Regions from separate parts of the Homo sapiens genome. Here region 1 is linked to region 2. Evidence: promoter capture Hi-C in human tissues and cell types (Jung and others, 2019). All regions are on one chromosome and are shown on one strand. The core of a region is centred on a gene start or on the middle of the fragment in contact, and the rest is flanking DNA. Distances in the headings are between cores, read along the strand shown.

Region 1 (7,437 bases), core at 803-3,302, 440 kb before region 2:
AGGATTACTAGAACCAAGAGGGCTCCCCACCTCAAGTCTGTCCTTCCTCTGAGCACACTCTTAACTGGTCATTGTCTTTTAATAGCTGCATGGAAAAAAAAATTCAGTGGAGCTGGGCCAGTTTCCAGCAAGACAGAACCAGAAAGAAACAGGCACTTAAAATAGAAGCATGAAAAAATAAAAAAGGAAGCCGTAATGGGAAAAGAAACAGTGTCCACCACCCAGAGAAGCGCCAATAAATAAACCTACTCCCACCTGCACCCCCCTCAATTCTTCCTCCCCACTCAAATGTGGATTAGAAAAAAAAAAAAAAAGGAGAGGGCGGGTAAAAGGAGAAGTGAACCGGGAAAGGCACAATTAGAGTTAAAATGGGCCCCTTCTGGTCACTGCAAGCGCAATTTACGGCTCCATTCCACACCCTACCTCTGGACTGCCAGCCTCACAAATGACAGGGAAGGTAAAAATAAAATCGCTGCCAAGTCCATTCTAAATTACAGAAAGACTTCCGGAAGACAAACAATTTCCTTTTGCGCACCCTAGAGTACAGAGCAACCTTCTCAAAGGTGGCAATTTCATTAGACTAAAAAAACTCACCTTGAGAGAGAAGGTATAGTAAATGGTGACTTGTCCAATCTACTTCCAGGCCGTATGTTGGGCTTAGCTGAGAAGAGTGCTCAAATGCCCTCCCAAACTTCAAAGAGAGCTAGAGAGTTCAGAGGGGAAGTGTTCACCTGCTCAACGTGGCCATTGATGGCTTGAGGTACCCTGAACAGAGACAGCAGCCTGTGATTTGTCCTATGACCTGAGATCCCCTGACCCTGAATTATGAGTGCATAGGACACTGTTGCCGCTTAGGAGATGAGCATCCCCATCAACCTCCACTGTGCACAGGAGGAATCTCCATGGGGCTGGCCCCCAAGGAATGCAGAGCACAACCTGTACAGGTGCGCCAGAAAAGCCTCTTCACTTTCTCGCTACTGGCATCATTCCCTGTTTGAATCTGGCCCACTCACTGCCTCCTTTTACTATAGCTCCAGACCAGAAAGGACTACACAGGACCTTGAATGAATGGGGGACTACAGTATATTAGAGTGTTCTTTCTTTCCTTTTTTTTTTTTTAACTAGAGATCGAGTCTTGCTATGTTGTCCTGGCTGGTCTCAAACTCCTGGCCTCAAGCAATCCTCCAGCCTCGGCCTCCCAAAGTGTTGGGATTAGAGGCATGAGCTGGGTAGAGCATTATTTCTAAGTGTTCTGACACGACAAATCACAAGGCAGGAATTCAGCAGGACGGAGGCAGGCTCCAAAAAGAATATGTTCAATGGACATCCCTCAAAATACCTCTCTAGACCCCTACCAAGGGAGAGTCAGACCCTTTGCTGATCTACTTGCCCGGCATTCTCTTCCTGGACTTTCCACCCAGGTGGCCAAATTCCTAGGCCAAATCTCAGTCCAAATGTCCCTCATCTCCCAGGCTACAGTAAATTTCCTTTCATTCTCTCATAACATCCTAATTGTTCCCTTTATGGCACTGCTATGTGTCACTACACATTCATGAGGGCAGAGATCATGTCTTGTTTTGTGAACCTCTGGAGACTCAGCACCTAGTGTGTGCCTGGCCCACAGTAGGATTCAGGAAATATCTGTTGAATGAAGGAAAGATGCAAGCTGTCAGGTTCAAAATCACTCTTGGGCCTGTAACCTCCAGTACTTTGCATATTCTTTCCAATCCAGTCACTCATCACCTCCCCGACTCCTTTAAAGAATGGAATCGGACCACCACGCCTGGCTAATTTTTTTGATTTTTTTTTATAGCGATGGGGGTCTTGAACTCCTAAGGTGAAGTGATCCTCCCACCTCGGCCTCCCAAAGTGCTGGGATTACAGGTCTGAGCCACCATGGCTGGCCCATTAGAGAGAGTCTTTCTACTGTGGGGAGAATTTCTAAAATGACATCCCTCTCACTCTAGCCCCCCTCCAATGCCTAAAACCTGTGAATATGACAAGGTGCCACACCCTTGAGTATGTCGTCAAGTATGTCGTCGTGTACCACAGCAGACCTTAAGAAAGGGGATCATCGGGCGGGGCGGGGGTGGGGGGCGGTGCTCTCTCAGTCTAATTAGCATCACATCACCTCCTGGAAGCAGAGCGCCTTCTCCAGCAGGTGGCAGGAGAGAAAATCAGAGAGATTCAAATCACAGGGAGATCTGACACTCCTTTCCTGGCTCGAAGGTGGAGGGGGCACCGTGAGAAGGAATGCAGGGGTCGGGGCCAGGGGGAAGCTTAAGGAGTTGAGAGGGACCCCCGCTGATGGTCAGCAAGGAATGGGCACCTCAGTCCTACAACTGCAAATAACTAAATTCAGCTAAGGACCTGAATGACTTTTTTTTTCTTTTTCTTTTTTTTTGAGACAGGGTCTCCCTCTGTCGCCCAGGCTGGAGTGCAGTGGTGCAATCACAGCTCACTGCATCCTCGACCTCCCTGGGCTCAAGCGATCCTCCCGCCTCAGCCTCCTGAGTAACCGGGATGACAGGCATGCGCCACCATGCCTAGCTAATTTCTGTATTTTTTTTGTTGAGATGGGGTTTGGCTATGTTGCTTAGGCTGGTCTCAAACTCCTGTACTCAAGCCATCTGCCCACCTCAGCCTGCCAAAGTGCTGGAATTACAGGCGTGAGCCACTGTGCCCAGCCCTGAATGACCTTTGATATGAATTCTTCCCCAGTGTATGCAGATAAGAATGTTGTCCTGCCAGAGCCTTGATTTTGGCCTTGTGAGACCCTGAAGGGAAAAGTCAGCCGTGTGATCCTGGACTTATGACCTACAGAACTGTGAGCTAATAAATGGTGTTGTTTTAAGCCCTGAGTTTGTGGTGATTTGTTACAGAGCAATAGAAAATGAATGCAAATAAATGACAATTCAATTTCCACAGTAGAAGATGGAACTCTCAAATACATGCATGACTAGGGAACAGCCTTGACCCAGTTCTTGCTGGTCTAGTTCAGCAGCCCTCATACAGTTATGGCATCACTCTGTGGGATCCAGTGCCCATGTCGAAGGAGCAGCATTCCAGTGATCCTAATGTCCTCAAGGAGACACTCAATCCTAAGATTCAATAATCACTTGGGAATTTGAACACCTAGTATAAATGAGATATTACCTATTCTTAGAGGGTAAGTAACATTCTTTTCTGGCAGAGTTGAAGTACACGGACTTTACACCTTCTTTTCCCAAACAAGACTTATTTATGTGTCAATTCTTCTCTGATTCCAATACTAACCTTAAAAGCTGCAAGGATTTGAAAAGAACAGTCGGTGAAAAGCATTCAACACAGAAATATCAATCATGAAGAAAAAAACAGATGAAGCCACAGAGACTGTGCAGGCAGTGGGACCCCAGCACACTCTTGGTGGTTCACCTTGCAAGCACAAGGCGGCTGTGATAAAGGGCGCCCCCTCTTCTCTGTGGTCCTCAAATTATCGCATCTCAGGAGTCAAGGCGCCAGGGAACGTAAACCAGCAACATGACCCACCCAGAAGTTTTGGCGAATGAAGAGCAGGAACACGAGACTCTTTCAGCTCAGCAAATATTTATTGAGCTGCTACTACGTGCAGTGAGGCACTATTCTAGGTCCTGCTGGGGACACAAAGATGAATGAGGCACACAGAGCCGTGGCCTGGTGTTTGAGTGAAAGCTTCAGCACCACTTCCCCCAAGCCCCTTCCTCCCCAAAAAAACCACAAACCAGGTGGAAGAAATAACTCCTCGGAAGTCTCCAATTCATCATCCTTTTTCTAAGTGTAAAGAAAAATGTATAACTTTATTTAAAAGAAAACTTTTTTTTTTTACTGGTTCTAAAGGTAAAATTTCAAAGAAAAGGAACAAAACCAACCGGGCCCTAATCTCCCATTCTCCACTACAAAATAATGAGTATCTGCACCACATCCTACTCTAGGTTTTCACTAATTTCATTAAATTTTCTTTGTGTCATTTTGTCGTTATAGAGTTGTACTGTTAGGCCGGATGCGGTAGCTTACGCCTATAATCCCAACACTTTGGGAGGCTGAGGAAAGAGGATCCAAGACCAGACTAGGCAACACAGGAAGACACTGTCACTACAAAAAAAAATTTAAAAATTAGCCAGGCATGGTGGCGCACACCTGTAGTCTCAGCTACCTGGGAGACTGAGGTGGGAAGATCACTTGAGCCTGGGAGGTCGAGGCTGCAGTGAGCTGTGATTGTGCCACTGCACTCCAGCCTGGGTGACAGAGCGAAACCCTGTCTCAAAAAAAAAAAAAAAAAAAAAAAAGAGTTGACCTTCAAAGGCCATTTGAAAACACAAAACACACAAAGTAGACCCAAAATATAGACATGCTGTATATAAAACTCAGCATAAGGCCAAACAGAAAACCTTCAGGCCGGGAGCCAGTCAATGAGCTCTTGCTCTCTTCACACCACTGGATGCAGAATTTCACACTCCATTATCAAATAGTCAGGGAGCCAAAGATACCTTCAACCCATCAAGACTTTTCTTGAAAAGGCAGACCAAACACAGTGGAAAGTGGAAAGTTACGCCAGGCGTGGTGGCTCACACCTGTAATCCCAGCACTTTGGGAGGCCAAGGCAGGTGGATCACGAGGTCAGGAGTTCGAGACCAGCCTGGCCAACAGGTGAAACCCCATCTCTACTAAAAATACAAAAACTAGCTGAGCGTGGTGGAGCGCGCCCAGCTACTCGGGAGGCTGAGGCAGGAGAATCGCTTGAACCCCAGAGGCAGAGGTTGCAATGAGCCGAGATGGCGCCACTGCACTCCAGCCTGAGCGACAGAGTGAGACTCTGTCTCAAAAAAAGTAAAAAAAGTGGAAAGTTAGTCAAAGATGGGAAACAGAAACTGTAGGACAGACAGAAATTAACAAGAGGAAGAAAACAACTCTAAAGATATCAAGAATCACGAGAAACATAAATGAACTGTGACAGTTTAAAATCATATGGTTTTTTAAAACTCTAGTTAAATGCTGTTACAAAAAAACACTACCTAAAATATAAGTACCAAATAGGTTAAAATGAAATGAATAGGGAAAAAAATATGCCAAGTGGACACAAAACAAAAGGAAGCTGGGATAGTTAGGTTAACGTCACACCAAACGGGTTTTGTTGTTGTTGTTGTATTTTTTTTTTATTTTTTATTTTTGAGATAGAGTCTCCCTCTGTCACCCAGGCTGGAGTGCAGTGGCGTGATCTCAGCTCACTGCAACCTCCACCTCCCAAGTTCAAGCAATCCTCCTGCCTCAGCCTCCCGAGTAGCTGAGACTACAGGCACATGCCACCACACCCAGCTAATTTTTGTATTTTTAGTGAGATGTGGTTTCACCATGTTGGCCAGGATGGTCTCGATCTCCCGACCTCGTGATCCACCCACCTCAGTCTCCCACAGTGCTGGGATTACAGGCGTGAGCCACCGCACCTGGCCACCAAATGGGTCTTTTAATGATTTTTAAAATTAAGGTATAATTTACATAGAGTAAAATTTACCCTTTCTAAGGGTACAATTTGGCAAGTTTTACCAAATGTTTATAGTGGTGTTACCATCACCACAACTGAGACATAGAACATTCCCATTGCTCCCAAAATTTCCTTGTGCCCCTTTGCAGTCAATCCCTCCTCCAATGCCCCCACATCTTCAGATTGGATTTCTGTCCCTAGAATTTTGCCTTTTCCAGGATGTTATATAAATGGAATCATATAGAACATAAGCTTCTATGTCTGGCTTCTTAAGCTTAGCCTAATACTTTTAAGAGTCATTCACGTTGTTAAGTTACTTTTTATTTGTCAGACCAAATAAATATACATCTTTTTTAGAGATGGGAGTCTTGTTATGCTGCCCAGGCTAGACTCGAACTCCTGGACTCAAGCAATCCTCCCAGCTCAGCCTCCCCAGTGGCTGGGACTATAGGCACATACCACTGTGCCTGGCTTCAGACCAAATAAATTTTAAGAGAAAAAGCACTAAAAACAAGAATAACAAGATAAGGCCAAAACGTTCTATTCATCCATAAGACATATGTCAAATTGTACTCTAGATCCAATGAAATAACCTCGAAATACATAAAGCAGAAATTCATCAGAATGATCTGGCACCACCCTTTACCAGTGTCATCTCTTCCTATGACTCCACTTCCCCTTCCTCTCCAGTGGGACTGGCCTCTCCACTGTTCCTTCAACTCCAAAGGCACATTCCTAACTTAAGGCCTTTCCAACAGCCATTCTTCTGCCCAAACTCTCTTTCCCCAGATATCCTCATGGTTACATTCCTTGCCTCCTTCAAATCTTTGCTTAAAAGTCACCTTCTCAACAACACCTCTCTTGACTGCCCTATTTAATACTGCAACCGGCTCTTATATGATACATTTATACATATTTTTCGCATGAATCAAACTCATTTTTTAAGTAATAAAAATCAATAAAACCAAGGGAAAAAAGGAACACTCTGGGATTCTGCATTATTATAGAAACCAAGGCACAAAATGTTTCTAGAGAGGACTAGTCCATGATGTTAAACTGGCAGACAGGTCAGGGGGGCTTTGGTGACTGTCATTGCAGCAGAATGATAGAGGCAGAGGGCAGACTGAAGTGAACTAAAAAATACTTAAGAAATAAGGATGGCAGACCCCAAGAATATTGAGACAAATACCTCCACTATATTTTCAATAAGTTAAGGGTGAAGAAAAACTTCATGAAACCCAGTACATGTGAAGCAGAATATAAATTCTAGATTTTAGTTCTGTTACTATTTTTATCTAAAACAAAATGAAAAGCCGGCTGGGGCTCAGCGGCTCATGCCTGTAATCCCAGCACTTTGGAAGGCCAAGGCTGGTGGATCGCTTGAGTTCAGAGTTCAAGACCAGCCTGGGGAGACCTTATCTCTACAAAAAATTTTAAAAATTAGCCTACTGTGGTGGTGCACACCTGTAGTCCCAGCTATTTGGGAGGCTGAGGCAAGAGGATCACTTGAGCCTTGGAGGTTGAGGCTGCAGTGGGCCTTGATTGCACCACTGTACTCTAGCCTGGATGACAGAACAAGACCCTGTCTCAAAATTTTAAAAAACAAAAAAGAGGCTAGGCGCGGTGGCCCACACTTGTAATCCCAGCACTTTGGGAGGCCAAGGCAGGTGGATCACCTGAGGTCAGGAGTTCGAGACCAGCATGACCAACTTGGCGAAACCTCGCCTCTACTAAAAATACAAAAATTATCCAGGCGTGGTGGCAGGTGCCTGTAGTCACAGCTACTCAGGAGGCTGAGGCATGAGAACTGCTTGAACCCAGAAGGCAGAGTTTGCAGTGAGCCAAGATCGTGCCACTGCACTCCAGCCTGGGCGACAGAGCAAGATTCCATCTCAAAAATAAATAAACTTAAAAAAAAAAAGAAAAGCCTACATACAGAA
Region 2 (7,367 bases), core at 183-2,682:
TTTGTTAAATTATTGTTCACTATTAAGATTTATTAAAAATAATGTTCTTTGGGGGAAACTTTTAAATTTTAAAAGTTTTTAGAATTAAAAGTCAGGATGCAGAGATTTCTCTTTTAGGCCCCAAATTAATCGAAAAAATATTTCACTAGTATATTTGCTTCAGAGAAATAGAAGTGAACTTTCACAAGTCATTAATCTATTGCTCAAAATAAAATGATCACACACAAACCGAAAATCAAAGCTTCAAACATACACACACCGAAAATCAAAGCTTCAAACCAATCTTTAGCGGCTGCATATCACTAGTTGCCTGGGGTTGGGAGAGAATGACTGCAAAGGGAAAGGAAGCTTTTTAGAATGATGGAAATGGTTTATGTCTTAACATGGATGAATACATTTTTCAAAACTCATCAAAATGTACATTTTAGATAGGCACAATTTACGTATGTACATTACACCTCAATAAAGTTTTAAATATTTAGAAGTCTATCCTGTTTCCTTAAAAAAAAAATTAGTTGCACCATGGTCTCAAAAATAATTTTTAAAATGAGATGTAATGCAACAGACTTGAAGATTAAATAAAACAGTCTTGAATATTTAAGAAAAATGACAAAACATGAGTCAAAAACAAAAAAAAAGGGTTGATTTATGAGTTTCTGGCCTCAAGGTCAACTCAGATTAGGGGGAAAAAAAAACAGTGGAGGCATAATCAAGATGGGGAAGCGTGTGGAGAGAAATCTCAGCTTCTACTCTAGAAGACGAAAACCAAAACCGGTATTACTTCAGAAGGCACACTGGAAAAGCACAGATGTGGGTGCACTTCAGACCTAGGTTCAACGGATCTAAGCTGCTAACTCTATGGCCCTGAGAGTCCTCAACCTGTGAGCCTCAGTTTCCCTTTCTGTAAAATAAAGATAATGATGGCTTAGAGTTTAGCTGAGCACACAGCAAATGCTCGACACATAAGTAATACATGATATTACATAAGGCACCAGAACTCGGAGCTGACTGGAAATGCATGCAAACTAAAGCCCTCCCCCAATCCCACCCCAGTTTCCCTCTGAGGGTCGTGATCCCTTTCTTACGCCTTATCGCCCCCAGCCAAGCCTCCCTTCCTTCCCACATACACTCCACACAGCCTTTTCACCCCTCGCCCCAGCAGCTTCAGAGGCCTCCCACCTCCCAGGCCCCACCTCGTTGAGGAAGCGGGTGACATCGTAGACTCGCCCATGGATCACAAGCCACAGTTCCTTCAAGGAGTTGCGCTTTGCCACCTCCTCCAACCGGTAATAGGTGACTGAGGTCTCGACTTCCTGCCCTTTCCCATCGCTGCCGCTAGCTTCCGCAGTCGCCATTGAACCGGACATACTGCCTCTCCACCGCTAACTGAGATTCCGCGACTACTTTCCTTGAGAGCCCGCGCTCAGCCTTCCTCGGCTTCCGTAACCAGGGCCCATAAGGCCTTGAGACGGTTCCTAGCAACAGCCAATCACACTTCCGAATAGTTCCTGGTTCGTTTTCTTTTCACCAATGAAGGGAGTGGCTCAGTTCGAAATCCCGCCCACTCCTCGCCCGATCCTCCAGATGAAAGTCTGGTTCGAGGTCCAACTAACCAATTAGGGTCGTTCAGCCCCCTCCAACCTCGCCAATCAGATACCGCGATTTTTGGACTGGCGCCCAAAAGAGGCGTGCTGACAGGTGTCACTTCAGGAGAGGTACCACTTCTCTCAGCCTGTGGGCCTTTAGGGTCTCCAGTGTTCTGCTTCCCTTCCCATCGCTGTGGCTTTCTCCTGAGTCTCAGAAAGTTCCTATCCCCTACACTACCGGCGCAGCCTGTATCCCAACCCTGATTTTACATCTTTGCTGCCTCCAGGTCGTGATCTGGCCAATCCCGTCTCTCCTCAATTTCCCCATCAGTAAAATGGGCTTGATAAAGCACTCTCTTACAGAGGGGTTTGCCTTTTTTTTTTTTTTTTTTTTTTTTGAGACAAGTTCTCGCTCTGTCTCCTAGGCCAGAGTGCAGTGGCACGATCTCGGCTTACTGCAAACTCCGCCTCCCAGGTTCAAGCGATTCTCCTACCTCAGCCTCTCGACTAGCTGGAACTACAGGCATGCGCCACCACGCCCGGCTAATTTTTGTATTTTTAGTAGAGAGTAGGTTTCACCATGTTGGCCAGGCTGGTCTCGAACTCCTGACCTCAGGTGATCCGCCTGCGTAGGCCTCCCAAAGTGCTGGGATTACAGGCGTGAGCCACCGCGCCTGGCCCGGTTTGCCTATTTTAATGAGAGTGCCTGTAAAGCGCTTGGCGCATAGTAATCGCTAAACATGGCAGTCGATTAGAAAGGCAATTGCTGTCCCGGACAGCAATTGGGGGTAGAATGTGGAGTATCCTATGTTTCTACCATCATTCAGAATCCGATTTTCAAACGAATTCTGTGATGATCAGGATCAATCGGCACTATTTTAGTCTCTACGTGATCTAAAATAGAATTGAACTCAACTGCTCTCCGCTAGAGGTCCCAGCACTTTGGAATTCCAAGTTTGGTTAAGGTACAGTGTTGTGCGCCACTTTTTAACTGCCATTACAACTGACAGATTGCTCTTCCTATGATGTCGTCGTTTTCATCCTGTCACTCTCGCAGTCTACCATTCAGGGCTCTCCACAATCCATTCGCAACCTCTTTCACTAACGTATAATATTTTCCACCATTCCCTTTATAAGCCTGTTGCACCCGCCCCGACTCTGAAACCTGCTGGTTTAAAACCACATCCGTGGTCATCCCAGGTCCACCAAGTTAATTTTAGATCACTTAGAGACTAAAATAGTGCAGATTGATCCTGATCATCACAGAATTCATTTGAAAATCGGATTCTGAATGGTGGTAGAAACATGGGATACTCCACATTCTACCCTCAATTGCTGTCCCAAGGACTCCTCTTCCTTTCAATGCCTACCGGCTTTTCAAGTTCCTCTTCAGTTTCTTCTATTTTCAAACTTCTCCTACCGTTTTGAGCTCCAGTGCTTCCATCCCTTTGTAGTACCTAAGAAAGCATATTACTATTTTGGGAAGCCTGCTACGTCTGTAAATTTTAACTTTACGTATTTTACCTCCCTAGTTAGACTGACACTATGAGAGCAATCTCACAAGATTCTTAGGATCCTCCACAAACTCTAGATTCAAATATTTACATTTATTCCAGACATTTACTATTTACTGTTACAAGTCTTATGATAGGCATTGGGAGTAGAGAGATAACATAAGAAACAAAATCTCTGAAAGAAATAAAAACATTTACAGGCTGAATGTGGTGGCTCAAGCCCCGTAATTCCAGCACTTTGGGAGGCCGAGGTGGACAGATCACTTGAGCCCAGGAGTTCAAGACCAGGCTGGGCAACATAGTGAGGCTCTTGTCTCTTCAAAAAATACAAAAATTATCTACGCATGGTGGCACACAACTGTAATCCCAGATATTTGAGAGGCTGAGATCTGGGGATGGCTTGAGCCTGGGAAGTCGAGGCTGCAGTGATGTATGATCGCACCACTGTGCTCCAGCCTGGATGACAGAGCGAAACCCTGTTTCAAAAAAATAAAAATAAATAAATAAAAATAAAAAATAAAAAAATTACAAATTCTAGCACTTAAGTGATATATACCTGTAACATTATATTTGAAAATGTTTTTAGAATTTCAAATAAGTAAGTTACAAGAATAATACAATGAATGACCATATACTTTTAGCTTAGGTTTACCAACTGTTAATATTTTTCAATATTTGATTTTTTCCATATTATTTTGATCATTGTTGTTAATAATGCTGAACTATTTCAGATATCACCACCCTTTACAGCCAAATAATTCTACATGTATCTTCTAAAAATAAGAACATATTGTCACGTAACTGCAGTATGAATTTCAAATTCAGAGAATTTAACATTCACACAAAATTATTATCTAACATACTCTCCATATTATTTTCCATTATTGCATTCATGTCCTTTGTGAAATTTTAGTGTGCCTGTATGACCCAGGATCCAGTTCAGGATCATGTATTGCACTTAGCTAAGTCTCTTGAGTCCCCTTTAATCTAGAACATTTCCTTAACTTTGCTTTTGCTTTCATGACATTGACATTTTTAAATAGTATAGCCTCAAATTGAATTTTACACTGAAAAATTATTGTGACCTAAATGTTTTGGTTATAAATTTATATTTACAATTGATAGCACATGTTAGCCAGAAAGTCTGGCTTGGAATACCTGTCCCTGCCACTCACAAACTTGGTGACCTTGGGCAGGTTTCTTAGCCTCTTTTTTTCCATGTGGATACCCACTTGTTCCTGCACCATTTGATGAAAACACAATTCCCCCTTGAATTGTTTTCCTGTATCTGTCGAAAATTGATTGATCATATAAGTGTGGTTCTCCTTCTGAAATTTCTACTCTGTTCCGATGACTTATTTGTTTATCCTTGTGCCAATTCCACAGTCTTGATTATTGTAAGGCACTAAATCAGGTAATATAAGTCTTATAGCTTTGCTCTTAACTTTTGAAAATTATTTTTGCTATTCTAGATCCTTTGTATTTCCACATACATTTTTTTTTTTCACTCTCATCACCCAGACTGGATGGAGTGCAATGGCACAATCTCAGCTCACTGCAACCTACACCTCCCGGGTTCAGAGTAGCTGGGATTACAGGCCCCCACCACCACACTTGGCTAATTTTCATATTTTTAGTAGAGAGGGGGTTTCACCATGTTGGCCAGGCTGGTCTCAAACTCCGGACCTCAGGTGATCCGCCCACCTCGGCCTCCCAAAGTGCTGGGATTACAGGCATGAGCCACCATGCCCGGCCCCACACACAATTTAAAATCAGCTTGTTGACCAAGTGATCAAATTAAAACATCTCCATAATAAATCATGTTGACAGCATGTACCCCCGGTGTGATGTGATGAAAAGGGCATGTTGCCACTGTGGCATTCTTCCACAAAATCCATAACCATAGTCCAAGCATGGGAAAAACATCAGGTAAACCCAAACTGAGGGACATTCTACATAATGCCTGACCAGTACTCCTCAAAACTGACAAGCTCATAAAAAAAAAAAAAAAAAAAGGAAAGATTGAGAAATTGTCACAGACTCAAGTAAACTAAGGAGACATGACAATTAAACGCAGTATAGTATCCTGGACTGGATCCTAGAACAGAAAAAGGGCACTGGGGAAGAATTAGTGAAATCCAAATAAAACAGTAAGGTGCCAGTGTTGATTTCTTACTTTTGACAAACATATTATGGTAATGTAAAATGCTATCTTTATGGAAAATTGAGTGAGTATACAGAAACTCATTGTATTATTTTTGCAACTTTTCTGTAAATCTAAAATTATTACAAAAAAAGTTATTATTTTTTGCTGGGCACTGTGGCTCATTCCTGTAATCCCAGCACTTTGGAGGCTGAGGCACAAGGATTGCTTGAGCTCAGGAGTTCAAGACCAACCTCGACAACATAGCAAGACCTCATCTCTTTTTTTTTGAGACGAGTCTCACTCTGTCACCCAGGCTGGAGTGCAGTGGCATGATCTAGGCTCAGTACAACCTCCGCCTCCCGGGTTCAAGCAATTCTCCTGACTCAGCCTCCTGAGTAGCTGGGATTACAGGTGCCCACGACCATGCCCAGCTAATTTCTTTGTATTTTTAGTAGAGACAGGGTTTCACCATGTTGGCCAGGCTGGTCTTGGACTCCTGACCTCAGGAGATCCGCCTACCTCGGCCTTCCAAAATGCTGAGATTACAAGCGTGAGCCACTGTGCCTGGCCTGCAAGACCTCATCTCTTTAAAAAAATGTAAAAATTAGCTGGGCATGGTGGTGGGCACCTATAGTCTCAGCTGCCTGGGAGGCTGAGGCAGGAGGATTGCTTGAACCCAGGAGTTGGAGGCTACAGTGAGCTATGATTGTGCCACTGCACTGCAGCCCGGGTGGCAGAGTGAGACCCTGTTTCTAGAAGAAAAAAAAAAAAATCAGCTTCTTAATTTTACAAAAGTGCTTATAGATGAATTTACAGAAAAAAGACACCTTAAAAACCTTACATTTCATGAACCATTTACTTCAGTTTAATTTGTAGTTTTCAATGTAGACATCTTTAGCATCTTTTATTAAATTTATTTCTAAATGTTTCGTTTTTTAATGCCCCTATAAATGAAATTATTTCATTTTCCAATTGTTTGCTGCCAGTCTAGATAAATATAATTGATTTTGTACATTGACTTACTATCTTATACCTTGCCAAATTCACTTATAGTTCCTGTAATTATTTTATGGATTTCTTAGAATTATCTATGTAATAAATATGTCGTCTGCTAATAGAGACAGCTTTGCTTCCACCTTTCTTCCCAATCTGTATGCCTCTTTTTTCCTTGCCTTGTTGCACTGGCTAGGACTTTCAGTACAGTGTTGAATAGAAATGGTGAAGTTAGCATCCCTGTCTTGTTCCTAATCTTAGGAGGAAAGCATTCAGTCTTTCACAATTTAATATAATTTTTCAGTAGATGTCTTTTATCAGCTTGAGGATCTTGAGGATCTAGTTTCCTGAGTTTGTTTTATTTTTATTTTGTTTTTATTAAGAAAGGGTGTTGAATCCTGTTGAATATTTTTTCTTTTCTTTTCTTTTCTTTTTTTTTTTTTTTTTTTTTGGTTGTTGTTGTTGTTGTTGAGACAGGGTTTTGCTCTGTGGCCCAGGCTGAAGTGCAGTGGCACGATCACAGCTCACTGCAGTCTCAACCTCCCGGGCTTGCAAGCAATCCTTCCACCTCAACCTCCCAAGTAGCTGAGACCACAGGCTCCCACCATCACACCCGGCTAATTTTTGTATTTTTTGTAGAGACAGGGTTTTGCCGTGTCGCCCAGGCTGGTCTCAAACTCCTGAGCTCATGTGATACACCCACCTCAGCCTCCCAAAGTGCTAGGATTACAGGCATAAGCCACTGTGCCTGGCCTGTTGAATATGTTTTATACATCTATCAGAATGATCATATTATTTTCCTCCTTTATTCCGTTAATATGGTGAATTACACTGAATGGTTTTCAAAAACTTAACCATCTGGCCGGGCGTGGTGGCTCATACCTGTAATCCCAGCACTTTGGGAGGCCGAGGCGGGCAGATCATGAGGTCAGGAGATTGAGACCATCCTGACTAACACGGTGAAACCCCGTCTCTACTAAAAATACAAAAAATTAGCCAGGCATGGTGGCACGCACCTGTAGTCCCAGCTACTTGGGAGGCTGAGGCATGAGAATCGCTTGAACCCGAGAGGCGGAGGTTGCAGTGAGCCGAGATTGCACCACTGTGCTCCAGACTGGGCGACAGAGC

The links. The method cuts DNA at HindIII sites, captures the fragments that hold promoters and counts their contacts. A contact is called where the count stands out against the background at its distance.
Region 1: a contact is called between a fragment that was not itself captured here and the fragment with the promoter of CYB5B in region 2, in 1 of the 25 tissues and cell types used here (stomach).

What each region holds. Positions count from the first base shown.
Region 1 is chr16:69,854,523-69,861,959 of GRCh38, reverse strand. All of the region lies in intron 6 of WWP2 (WW domain containing E3 ubiquitin protein ligase 2), which reads right to left. Among named protein-coding and RNA genes, the nearest start is that of MIR140, 75 kb to the left of the region's middle. The HindIII fragment of the contact is 7,416 bases long and covers 1-5,760 here.
Region 2 is chr16:69,418,684-69,426,050 of GRCh38, reverse strand. It overlaps CYB5B (cytochrome b5 type B), which reads right to left and starts at 1,432. Exons shown (of 5, transcript NM_030579.3): 1 at 1,194-1,432. The coding sequence starts at 1,367. RefSeq lists enhancers at 1,054-1,601, 1,602-2,149. The HindIII fragment of the contact is 13,364 bases long and covers 1-7,367 here.